Regions from separate parts of the Homo sapiens genome. Here all the other regions are linked to region 1. The links are contacts of gene promoters, found by promoter capture Hi-C in blood cells and fetal thymus (Javierre and others, 2016). All regions are on one chromosome and are shown on one strand. The core of a region is centred on a gene start or on the middle of the fragment in contact, and the rest is flanking DNA. Distances in the headings are between cores, read along the strand shown. Region 1 holds the start of KCNG1 (potassium voltage-gated channel modifier subfamily G member 1). Region 2 has its middle 51 kb from the start of NFATC2. Region 3 holds the start of SALL4 (spalt like transcription factor 4).

The links. Contacts are between HindIII fragments. The CHiCAGO score rates a contact against its expected background, and 5 or more counts as called.
Region 2: a fragment that was not itself captured here is called in contact with the fragment with the promoter of KCNG1 in region 1 in 4 of 17 cell types (M0 macrophages, naive B cells, monocytes and 1 more); the score reaches 7.0 in M0 macrophages.
Region 3: a contact is called between the fragment with the promoter of SALL4 here and the fragment with the promoter of KCNG1 in region 1, in 4 of 17 cell types (non-activated CD4 T cells, M0 macrophages, total CD8 T cells and 1 more). The highest score is 7.8, in non-activated CD4 T cells.

Annotation. Positions count from the first base shown.
Region 1 is chr20:51,020,903-51,024,836 of GRCh38, forward strand. KCNG1 (potassium voltage-gated channel modifier subfamily G member 1) reads right to left here and starts at 2,205. Exons shown (of 3, transcript NM_002237.4): 1 at 1,968-2,205. RefSeq lists an enhancer at 1-409 and a silencer at 2,134-2,303. The HindIII fragment of the contact is 2,899 bases long and covers 43-2,941 here.
Region 2 is chr20:51,591,544-51,595,575 of GRCh38, forward strand. No RefSeq gene overlaps it. Among named protein-coding and RNA genes, the nearest start is that of NFATC2, 51 kb to the left of the region's middle. The HindIII fragment of the contact is 1,237 bases long and covers 2,111-3,347 here.
Region 3 is chr20:51,801,047-51,804,787 of GRCh38, forward strand. SALL4 (spalt like transcription factor 4) reads right to left here and starts at 1,475. Exons shown (of 4, transcript NM_020436.5): 1 at 1,233-1,475. The coding sequence starts at 1,362. RefSeq lists enhancers at 1-536, 1,180-1,821. The HindIII fragment of the contact is 4,794 bases long and covers 1-3,741 here.

The DNA.
Region 1 (3,934 bases), core at 955-3,454:
TCAAAGTGGTGCTCAGATCTGCCCCAATCAGGCTCCAGGACAAGCTTCGGGAAAGTCTTTGGGGATGGGGAGAAGCAAGTAACCTCTGCCTCCCATGTCACATCTCCCTCCCAGAGGCCAAAAAGGCAACCCAGAGTTTGGCAAAACTAGGGGTTTGGTTGATTTTTTTACTCCCAAGGTTTGACAACCCAGGCTGTAGGCTGCGGGCCTGGGCTCTCAAGTCTCAGGAGAAGAACCTAGGTTGCCTCGTTTCCAGTGTGCTTGCAGTTCCCTGCAGGTTAGGAGTGTGTCCCAGGACAGACATCTTTCCCGTGGAACGGGCTGGCTTCGAGAATGACTGAGGAGGGTGATCCCCAGGGGCCAGCGCTTGCCTGTTTTTCAAACACACCTTCCCTCCTTCCCCTCCTATCAGGCGACTCTGCAGGGCTCCAAAAGCCGGGGGAGGCACAAATAGAGCTCAGGTCTGGCAGAGCCTGAAAAATCCCCCAAAGAAGGACAGCATGCCCTAGCCACAGTGCCGACCGCAAGGCCCCAATCAGCAGTGCCAAACTTTTCTTGGAGATGTGCTGCCGGTGAGGCTCTTCATAGGGACTCTGCCATCATGGGTATGGGGGTATCAAACACACACTAATGAATAAACCTCTGCTCAGATTCATAGGGCAGGAACTTCCCCCACCCCACAATGAATCAGACCAGTTCCTGCTCCCTCCTCTTACTTCCCCCTGTACTTATCTCAGGGAGTCAGCAAAGGGGGTGGGGGCGTCTGTGTCTGTCTCCCTCTTCTATGTGTCTGTCATTTACCTGGGTAACTTTGGTGCCTGGCACCCTTTAAGTGCTTAATAACAGCGAGTGCTTAAGAAAATGCCTGCTGAATGGACAACCTAACTCATAAACCCCATTGGTGGGAACCTGCATTCCTCAGTAATGTCGGATCAGTGTTTCTCAACTCCTCCCCACCCTACCCCATCACCCGCCCCTAAGGAGCTTTGAAAAGATCTTTTCTTCCTATTCTAGAACCAATTCCAGCTTCCACACCTCCCACCTTGAGAAGGAATGCATTAGATGAACCAAGACTTCTGCCTATATACATGGGCTGCTACAGTTGGCCACCCCGGCAGTCTGCGGCCTCCCAAGCGGGGGCCTGGGTCTTAATCCTTACTTCTCTCTAAGCTGCATGAAGGGTGCCCCCATTCCATCCCTCTTCACTTCTCCCCAGCATAGCGCCTCCATAAATGTTTGTGAACTGGATGAATGACTGTTGAGCGCTTGGTATGATGAGCTGCTTACAATAGGTGCTCAACCAATCTTTGTCCAATCTATGAATGAATGAATGAACTTCACCCTTTTCCTTCCATACCTCCGGGCTGAGCCTCTCTCCCACATGGAAACCCTAAGGCTGAGACCACCACCTTCCTACCAGTTCCTGGGGGTGCCCAGTGAACTGTCTCAGTATCCCCAGTGCCTAGCACACAGTAGGCGCTCAATAAACGCTTGCTGTGTTCATAATGAATGACTCAATCAGGCCCACGGTGGGGGTGAAGGGGGGCTCCATACTGTGCCTAAGGATACAGTGAATGAGCAAGTGACACACACTCCCCCACCCCAATCCCTAACTCTCCTTCCTCCCAGGATCGGGGGAGAAACCTCGGCCCACAGCCGGGATGCGCCCCCGCCGGGGTCACCGCGGCGGCGAACGTCCCGGACTTCGCATCCCGGTGACCCCTTGGGATGAACCGAAGCCGGACCCGCACCTTGGCCGTAACAAGCGCGCTCCACGCCGCCACGCACCAGCGGTGACTCCCGAGTCCTCTGTCGCCCTGGCCTCCCCGCAGGCGGGTTTCGAGGCCCCCGCAGGGAGTTCAGGGCCACGGCCACGTGCAGCCGCCCCCGAGCCCGAGTTTGCAGGCTCGGGGTCCGGTTCGCGCTTCGGTGGCGCCCGGCGAGGCTGCAGCGCGCAAAGTTCCCACCTCAAGTTCCCGTCGCGGCGTCCCCGCCTCGGAGTTGGCCCGGCCGCGGCTTCCGTTCCCCCCGGCTGCCCACGGGTCCGGGGCGAGGACGCGAGAGGGGCCTGGAAGTCGCCCGGGGAGCCCGCTCTGCCTCCCGGAGCCGCCGCCAAACTTCGGTCCCGGGGCCCGGCTCAGCTCCCGCCCTCGGAGCCACGGCCGCCCCGTCTCTGCCTCCCGGTCCCCGCCGGGCTCCGAGTGCGCCGGGAGCGCGGCGCAGCAGCCGCCGAGGGAGGGAGCGAGGCAGGAGGCGGGACGGAGGGAGGGGACTGAGCGCGGGGCGGGGAGAAGGGGCGGGCAGCCGAAAGCGCAGCGCCTGGCCTCGCCTCGCTTCGGGACAGTGGCAGCGGCGCCACCGTCACGGGGCGTCCAGGCGCCCAATCGGGACCCCGCACCTTGGATCCGGGGGCCCTGGCGCGCCTGCTGGATTGCGCTCCTCGCGGCCAGTTCCTGAGCCCGCGTCCGGGACTGCTCGCGCTACGCCCTCCCTCCCGTTGCCTTCTTCCCCGTCTGCTCTCCCAGGAGCGACCACCCTGCGGCCCCTTCGCCTGCACGCGACAGCCTTCAAGGTCCCCGCGCTCCGCTGCCCTGGAGCTTCACGCACCAGGCGGCGCGGCAGCCTCCTAGGGTCGCGCGCCCTGTCAGCTTTCCCCGCGGTGCAAGTGCTCCGGTGGTCCCGGGTCCGCGCCCCTAGCAGCACCGCCCCAGGGTCTACATGTGCTAGATATTAAAACCCCACTCTCCGCTGCCCCGGGGCCGCGCTCCACGCGCTTACACATCCTGGGAACCACATGCGCCATGTCTCCTGCCTTTCCCTGGAAGTCCTGGAAGTCCAAGTGCACTGCTGCCTCTGGGTCCCTCGCCCCCCTACCCCGGGCAAATACTGCATCCTTGAGGCCCTCCACGCGCTGCTGCCCTGGAGCCGAACGCTCCAAGCAAGCTTCCACATCCTGGGGGCCATATATCGCGCGCCTTTTCTCGACCTCCTAGACCAATGTTGCCCTTGGGCCCTTCCTGCCACCGCCACCCAGGGACTGCCAGCATCTTGCTGTGCCAAATTCCTAGGGCCAGTACGTACCGTGCCAGGTGTTTTCCCTTCCAGTCCCGCGGGGCCGAGGCCCCAGAGCCCTCCCGGGCTAGCAGAGCCGCACTTCGTCGTCCACTCCCCTGGCCGGTGCAGGGCACTTGGACCAGGTCCTGGGGTCTTGCTCCCAGTGTGGCCGCCTAGCCTCGGAGTTGGTAGGATGCTGCACAGATGCTGGAGGTTGGGTTGGAGGGATCTATTGGGTTGGAGGAATCTACTGAGTTGGAGGGACCTATTGGTTTGGAGGGATCTGTGCTGCTGGCAGGGCTGGCCTCTTAGGGTGGCTTGCCTTGCACTCCGTTCCTCTTCTCCTTTCTGTCTCTTGCACTCCGTTCCTCTTCTCCTTTCTGTCTCTTGCACTCCGTTCCTCTTTTCCTTTCTGTCTCTACTGCCTTTGCCTATCATCAGAGAACCAAGAAAGGACATGAAGAAACCCTGCTGCCGACCAGCCTGAGGCCTTCTGCTTGAGTGGGGCTCGGGTTGGGGAGTCGTGGGTGCTCATTAAGTGGGTTAGGGTTAACCCTAAGAAATGAGCGCAGGGCACACTAGCCTGCGCGGCAGTCCCAGCCGGGTGGAGCATAGGAGTTCCAGGTTATAGTGCACTATGATGGCACCACTGCAATCCAGCCTGCGTGACTGAGCGAGATCCAGCCTCTAAAACAACAAGAATAAAAACACTGGCTTACTGGTGAGGTGGAGGCCTGGACAGACAAGGATCTGCCTAAGGACCTGTTTCCAAGAGCTCACCTTCTACTGGGGGCTTGGCAGAATTGGGAAACTGCTGAAATACGTGATTGCAGAATGAAGCCAGAGAGGCCACTTTAGATAGAATAATGGGGGAGGGCTC
Region 2 (4,032 bases), core at 1,479-3,978, 570 kb after region 1:
CCAACTCCAGCACAGCCCCCTGAAATGGCTCTGATTCATTTCCACTCCCAACCCGCTCAGGGCCCAGAAGAAAGGTAGTGCTTTCTCTTGGGGTCTTCCCCAAGCGTGAGCAGACCATTTTAGAGCAAAAGCCTCCACGTCTGCATAAGCCTGGCTCTCAGATTTTTTCTGGCCTGATTTTCACTAATTCTGTTGGTGATGAGCTGCCTAATAAAATTATGCTAAGTTATGTGCATAAAGAGTAGCATCTTAAACTCTAATTATTGGCCACATCTTTGAAGAATTCCTGTGCAATTTCCAGGGTAATCAACTCACCTCTTTCTTTCGGCCTGATTAGCTGTTTGGGCCAATTTAAGCCCCCACCCCCAGCCCCACTCGAATCAACGGGGTTCTGGATGTCATTAGCTACTCCAATTGCCTTTTTAAAAATCTGTTTCATATAAAAGGACAAATGAGAATGAATATTTGGCCATCTTTAAGACACTAACTACATTCTTTTCCACAGCCTGTTCTCGTTTATTCTTTCTTTCTTCCGGAGGAATTTGAACACAGCCTGGGCTCCCGCAGTTCATGACTGCAAAAGGCTTCGCCTTCGAAATCTGACCCAAGTGGGCATATTCGGGAAATGTGGCAGCTTCGAAGAACATGAGCCAGTTAAGTTTTCTCTACCTATTCTTCCTCCGCACTCACCTCCCAGTTCTAGGCAGCTGGTTTATGCAGCCTGCTTTCCAGGACTGTCGAAGGAAAAGGCACCTCTGCCAAAAGCACCCCAGGCTACAGGGCTGAACAGAGACCCATCGTATCATTCGCTGGAAAAGCAAGAGGAAACTTCATCCAAGGACTGGCTTCTTCTCTCCTTTATTTACTAGTGTGGTTATGTCAATAAAGTCATGCAGAACCACTGGGCATGGGAGTGGGTTGGTTCCAATGGAAAGGGTTGCACCTGAGCCTCCTCGGACATAGACGCAGAAATGAGAACAGGTGGGAAAGGGTCGGTGAGGCGGGGTAGAAGAGAAGGAGTGAAAGGGGCCCTCGAACATGGTTCAGTGTAGAGGGCTAACTTTAATAATGCTTGCTCGTTCTGCAACGGACTCTTTAGTCCGAATGCCAAGGTCTGCAGGCCCTCCCTATCTCCCTGACCTCACCTCCTCCATGCCCCACCCCCTCGGTCTCAGCACTCCAGCCCTGTGCCCCTCCGACATGCCCAGCCTTTCCTACCCCGGGGCCTTTGCACACACTGCAACCACAATGTCACTTCCCCAGATCTCTCTGAATGACGCTCTGCCTTTGCAAACTTGCCCAGGGTCCTGTGGCCTTAGCCATTGTTCAAAGTTAGAAATGAACCTCCCCCCAGTATGCTAGGCTGGCCTGGGCATCCCTGACTAGAGAACATACCCCTCATGGGGCAGCCCAAGGAGAAAGCAAAGGGACTCCTCAAGAATCCATTGACTGGCTGGGCACGGTGGCTCATGCCTGTAATTCCAACACTTCGGGAGGCCAAGGCAGGCAGATCACTTGAGATCAGGAGTTTGAGACCAGCCTGGCCAACATGGTGAAACCCCGCCTCTACTAAAAATACCAAAATTAGCCAGGTGTGGTGGCACGTGCCTGTAATCCCAGCTACTCGGGAGGTTGAAGCAGGAGAATTGCTTGAACCTGGGAGGCAGAGGTTGCAGTGACCCAAGATCGTGCCACTGCACTCCAGCCTGGGTGACAATGCAAGACTCTGTCTCAAAAAAAAAAAAAAAAAAAAGAATCCATTTACTTGGGGATCTTGGAGAATAGAATTGGCCAATCATTAAAAACTTTTTTTTTTACATTAAATCCACTAATGGAATAGAAAGCAGAATTTCCTTGAGATTAAAAAAAAAAACCCCACAAGGCATGAGAAAATTGAGGGGGACGGTGTGGCTGGCACCCACATGGATAGGTTGGGGGGCATCACTACCAGCTTCTGCTCTTACAGGGTCCAGAGGTGCACAGCACCCTCCTTCTCATCCTGCAGCCCTCTGCTCCAGTGGGCCCATCTCTGACTCCCAGCACTTTCCCCACCTTTATTCCTACCTGGTTGTCATCCTCTGCCTAACCCTTAGGCTGCTTTATCTTAGGAAGCTTTCTCTCCACCTGATGTTAGTCTTAATCTGTTTATTGTCTTTCACACACATACACACACACACACACAGAGTGTAATCACTATGAGGGCAGACACTACGCTTGTCTGGTTCCCTGCCACGCCTCCAGCCCCAAGAACAGTGCCTAACACATAGGAAGTGCTCAGCAAATATTTGATCAATGAAGGAATAAAAATGTCAGCATATTCTGCACATCTCCTACCCATCCCCCAACACTTTTTCCATTCCTTCTGGACTCTGCAATCTTTCTCAAAGGAAATAAAAAATAGTCCTGGGCTTATCTGGACCTGATCTGATCAAAGAAAAAAAATGTATTTCTTTTAAATCTCTTGAAAACAAACACCACAGGCTTAGAACACCAAGTTCTTAATGTAAGCAAACAGAACCTGCTGGCTGAATTCTAAGAAATGAGCCCTGGCTTGGTATCAAGCATAGGTTGTGGGGCCGATGACTTCACATGTGACTCAGTTACCCCAAATTTCAGGGGGAATCCATTTCAAAATCAAAACGTCAACATGGAAAGTGGAGGGTGGCTTTGTTTGGGCATTCCTGCAAGAAGGCAGGCTTTCTGAAAAGATGCTATGTTATAGATAACTCATCCACAAAAGGGGGGCAGGAGGGATGGGGAGAAACCCCAGGATTGGGTGTATTTCTCGGCTAAGGCTTTGGATGCAAACTGATCCGGGAATGCGTGATCCTCCAAAAATCCACCAGCCCCCAAAGTGCTTGAGTTACCCCTCCGACCACAGCCACATGGAAAATGAAATTAAATCCCACGGAAAGATTTGACTTTTTTAACATTATGCAATGTTTGGGTGAAAAAAGGGGGGTGGGGAGAGGGAGATCAGAAAAAAATTCATCTTTTTCCCAGAGTTTAGCAGAGCTATTTCTAGCTTTTAATGATACATTTCACCATCACTTCATGGGTAGTTTTGAGAGGCGCGAAGGCGGGACCGGTTCTGTTATGTAACCCATTTAAAGTAGGAAATTAGCAAGTCCTGAATGAATTCTGTCACTGTGCTCCCACTTCTGGAAAATTTGGAGCGACTACAGTTCTATTTTGAGGTGAGCAAATCCATCATTTATAGACCTCCTCACAAATACCACAGGGCTTCATGTCACCCTGAAAAGTTTCATAACAAAAACACTAAAAGTACTTGGGGTGTTGGTACATTTCGTCTCAAAACCTTATTAGACTGAACAGTGAATTGGCAAAGCTTCCTACTTGCCAATTATTCAAAAATGCAAATATCCAAGAGCAAATAAATATTCATCTCTCACCCTCCCTGCCTTTTTTTTTTCCTTTTTTTTTTTTTTAACTAAGTCCAGCAAAATATTCTGGTCAACAACATGAAAAGAAATGTCTGTTTTTCACGGAGCCTCTGGCCATGAAATAAATTCTGAAGCTATGAAAGCACAGTCTTGAAACTCAGGGCAGTTGGGCACGTGGGGTCCGGCTGGTTGTGGAAAACAGGAAACAGCAATGTCTTTCAGTCCTCAAGTTCCCCCTAGCGGCTCCGGCGGAGGAGTGTCCGCACATGGACGGAAGTTCACTGCAGGCAAATGCAGAGGCTTAAGGTCGTGCAGGGATAGCACACGTTTAAGGGAAAGCATGGTCGGTCCCTACCTTTGAAACCACATACCTTCCTTTTGCTGCTGTCATGAGATAACACAACTAAGTTACAATTATCTTTCTAATCTATATACTGAGGATGGCCCTTTCCATTGAGAACCAAAAAGAGGGAACCAGCAGCTCACACTGCAGACAGCCACTAATTACACCATTTGGTATAGTATTTGGTATAGTAGGCGGAGGCATAACTTGCTTCCTGAGACACACGAGCTTATACCTCCGGGCCCTTTTACAAATACAGACAGACAAATGGTACAGCTGACACGT
Region 3 (3,741 bases), core at 225-2,724, 780 kb after region 1:
TCTGCTGCAGGGAAATTAGAAAGCAGGCGGGGAGCGGAGCGACGAACAAGGCCGGAGAGGAGGCTACAAATCCCCCCTCCCCCCACGCGCACGCTAAAAACTTATCAGGCGACAATTTGGCGGGCCGGGATGGAGACGAGATAGTGGAAAACCGCCTCGCTCCTAAAACCTCCGCGGTGAAGTGATGAAGTGGGAACAGAGTTGGCCCCGCCGTTCCTGGCGCGGCTGGGGTCCCGAACTCCCCTCGATCTGGGAAACGCTGGCCGCGGAAGCGTGGGCCAGGTCAGCCGCGGGAGTTCGCTCTGGCCCCCCACCTCTCCCCTTTCACACCCAAGCGCAAATGTGGAAAGCCGAGCGCTCCAGAAAAGCCACGCAAAACGGGAGGCCGGTGCACCCCAGTGGGGCTGCCGCGCGCCCGCCACCCCGGCCACTGGGGGCTCGCACCCTCGGGCTTGCCGCGGTTATTTTTAGGAAGTCGGAAATCAAAGATGGCTGGAGGTCAGGCCCCGAAAGGTTAGGGCGAAGATCGGCAGGCGGCGCAGCCCGGGCAGAAAAGGCGAAATCCAGAAAAGAAAAAAATTTTAAAGGGAAACATTGAGCCCTCCTCCCCCACCTCTCTGGGCCCTCCAATCCCCTGCGCAGCGCGGGTGGCCCGCACCCCAGCTCCTGAGGGTGGGGAGAGGTCGCGCCCCCTCCCCCCACTTGGCCCGGGAGGGGCGCGTGCAACAGATCGTCCTCCTCCGGGGGGTCTTCCAGGGGTGCGCCCCTCCTCCAGCCTCCAAGAAAAGCCCCAAGGGGCTGGTGGAGAGGGTGGGGATCCCCCGGGGTTCTTTCTTTTGAGAGCGACGCGAGGGAGGGGGACCTAAGTTACAAGGGGGGGGGGTAACACCAGTGAGGGGAGTGGAACCAATTAAGTGAGGGGCAGAGGACAAGGAGAAGGGAACCTTTCGGGAGCGAGAACAGAGGAGCGAGTGGGGGTCAATTTTACAATTAGGGGAGAAAGCTGGGGGTGAAACTTACACAAGAGGGGAGAAGAGGAAAAAAGTGTGAAATGTGCAAAAGGCGGGGTGGTGGGGAGAGGAGGAGACCTCTCCTCCCGGGCACTGAGCCCCCAAATCTCGGCTCCTGAATTTGCGCTGGACGCCGCCCGCTCCCCGAAGCCTGCGCCCTCGAGGATCCCGCGTACGTCCGGGAAGCTCCCCTCCCCGGGCGGGCGCCCCAGCCCCACTCACCCAGCTCCCCCGCCGCGGGCGCCGCTGGGGCCGCATCTGCAAACTCCGGGGTCTGCTGCTGCGGCTGCTGCTCGCCCTGGTCCTCCTCCGAGTTGATGTGCTGGGGTTTCGCCTGCTTGCGCCTCGACATGGTGCGAGCATCGGGGCGCCGGGAGAGCCGCAGTTATTTGCCCTCTCCGCCACAAATTCCTGGAGTTGGGAAATTTACCCCCCTTCGGCCGGAACGCGCATGTCCCAGTAATTATTATTATCAATAATGCATTGCGATTTATCATGAGCCCTGACAGCTGATTGGCCTGGGTCCAAGACCTCAGAGATCATTTAAATAAGCCCTCATTGATCAGGGAGGGGTGAGGCATTCTGGGCTTTGTAGTCCGGGCCTACTTGTGACAAAGGCGTGTTCATCAGGGGAGCGCAGCTAATTAGCATCCGGGCTCAGATTGGCTGGGGCGGGGACGAAATCAGAGGGGGACCCATCCTTGCTCCAGCTATCTCAGTCCTTGGAGAGGAAAAGAAAATGGGGAGAAATGCGTACTCATTAAAAAGTAGGAGCTTACGTAGAAGTTTTGGAACGGCTTTATTTGGTAGTTACTTGCTCCAAAGATTACTTGGTAAGGTTGATGTCCACCAGCCGAGAAGGGAGATCTCTTCACAGTGGAATATTTTGGCTCAGTTTTCACATCTACACGCACACACATTCCCCCAAACCTGAGATGTGACCCGTGTCCCCTCCCATCTTTTTGATTAAAAATGTTTAAGTTGAGTCTCGAGATAACTGAAGAATGATGAATGGTGGTGTTTTCAGCCCTCCCACCCATCTCAACTCTTAAAGTGAGCTCGGAACTTCCAAAATTTCAGATACCCCACCACCACCATGACTTACCTCCTTTAAAAGCTGATTAATAGCCTCCAGGATTCCTGTTCACAAAGACTGGTTTGTGGTTACAATGCAAACCTTGATTTTTTTTTAACTTCAAAATGACTGGCTACTAAATATAGAAATGGCAAATGATAAGCAAGCATAGTCAGAGATAATATCAAAACAGCAAGCAATTGCATTTTTTTCCCCAGGAGCCATAAATGCCTGATAACATCATATTTTATTACTGAGACAATGCTCTTGCATCTCCCATGGAATGGCAATGGGGCACTGTCACAGTATCTGGTTGTTACTAATCACTATTGGAATTTTTTTGTGCAATACACACATTATTACAGAAAAGGTGTATCGTTCAAAGTGATTGTATCATTGACACATGATGCCTGGAATTTTTTAAAGTGGGGCTTGTGTGTGTGTATATGATATATTACATGTATACACATTTATACCGTAAATTCATGTATACTTAATTTGGCTAACTGCTTTACACAATGTACATGCTCAATAAATGTTAAATGAATGATGAAATCATCAACCTGCTAAGTCTTTGATTGGTCTTTCCATAACTGCTCTGGGCATGCGTCTTTGTTTGGCATTTACTTCATTGTAAGGGACTGTGCAGATATAAACCCTCCCTCCACATTTGTGCATTGCATTCTCTTGATTAGTTATTCATCACGTTCCCAGCTTGTAAACTCATCAGGAATACAAGCAAAATGGAATGCTGGGCTCATCAATGTGTTCACCTGGGTATTTGGACAACCCAAGGCAGAAAATAAATCAGCTTGATCATCTTTTTTATATTCGTGGCCATCAGTAAAAACTTGTTGAAGGAAGATTAACCTTCAATTTTTGAGTCTCTGAAAAAGTCTTGCCTTATTTTATGTATAATATTTAAAGCAAGTAAGACAGAATTATAGCCAACAGCCAGATTGAAAAGGTAAGAATTTGGTTTAATAATACATAGAAGCAGTTTAGAATTCTGATACTGAGTAAAAAGGCCAATTAGCACCTGCCTTGCTGACTAATCTACTAATATTCTCAACACCTTTTCTGTGTAAGATAGTGTGGCAGGAGATCTAACTTACAAATCTAAACGAATGTGCAGTGGGTTTATGGCTCAAAAAATACTATTGGGTTAAGGAAAATTTCATTTATATAGTTGTTTATATTTATTTTAGTAGATGATAGTTGTAACATGTTAGCCTTACTACGAGACAAAATTGTGCCGCTTGACTCTCCAAGTGATAGTAATAATAATAATTGATTGAGCCCCTTGTACATGCCACAGACTGCATTAAATGAATGCACACCGCCTTGTTTTATCTTCCCATGGAGGTTGGCCCTATTGTCCTCTCCATTTTGAAACTGAGGCTCAAAGACATGAAGTGACTTAATTAGAAACTGGCTGAGCTGGTGGTCAGTTTCTAAGCCGGTGGTCAGTTTCTAAGTCTGACTCCAAAATTCTATCACATCCTAATACCTGTCTTCCAACTATAGCTGAATATAGAGAAGATAGCTAAAGAAGAAAAATCGGAGTACAGTAAACTAAATTTAAAGTGTCCTAGAAAAATCTTGGGTCTTCAGAAATCACTCCAACAGATGAAGTCAAGAAGTTTCCCTCAAATG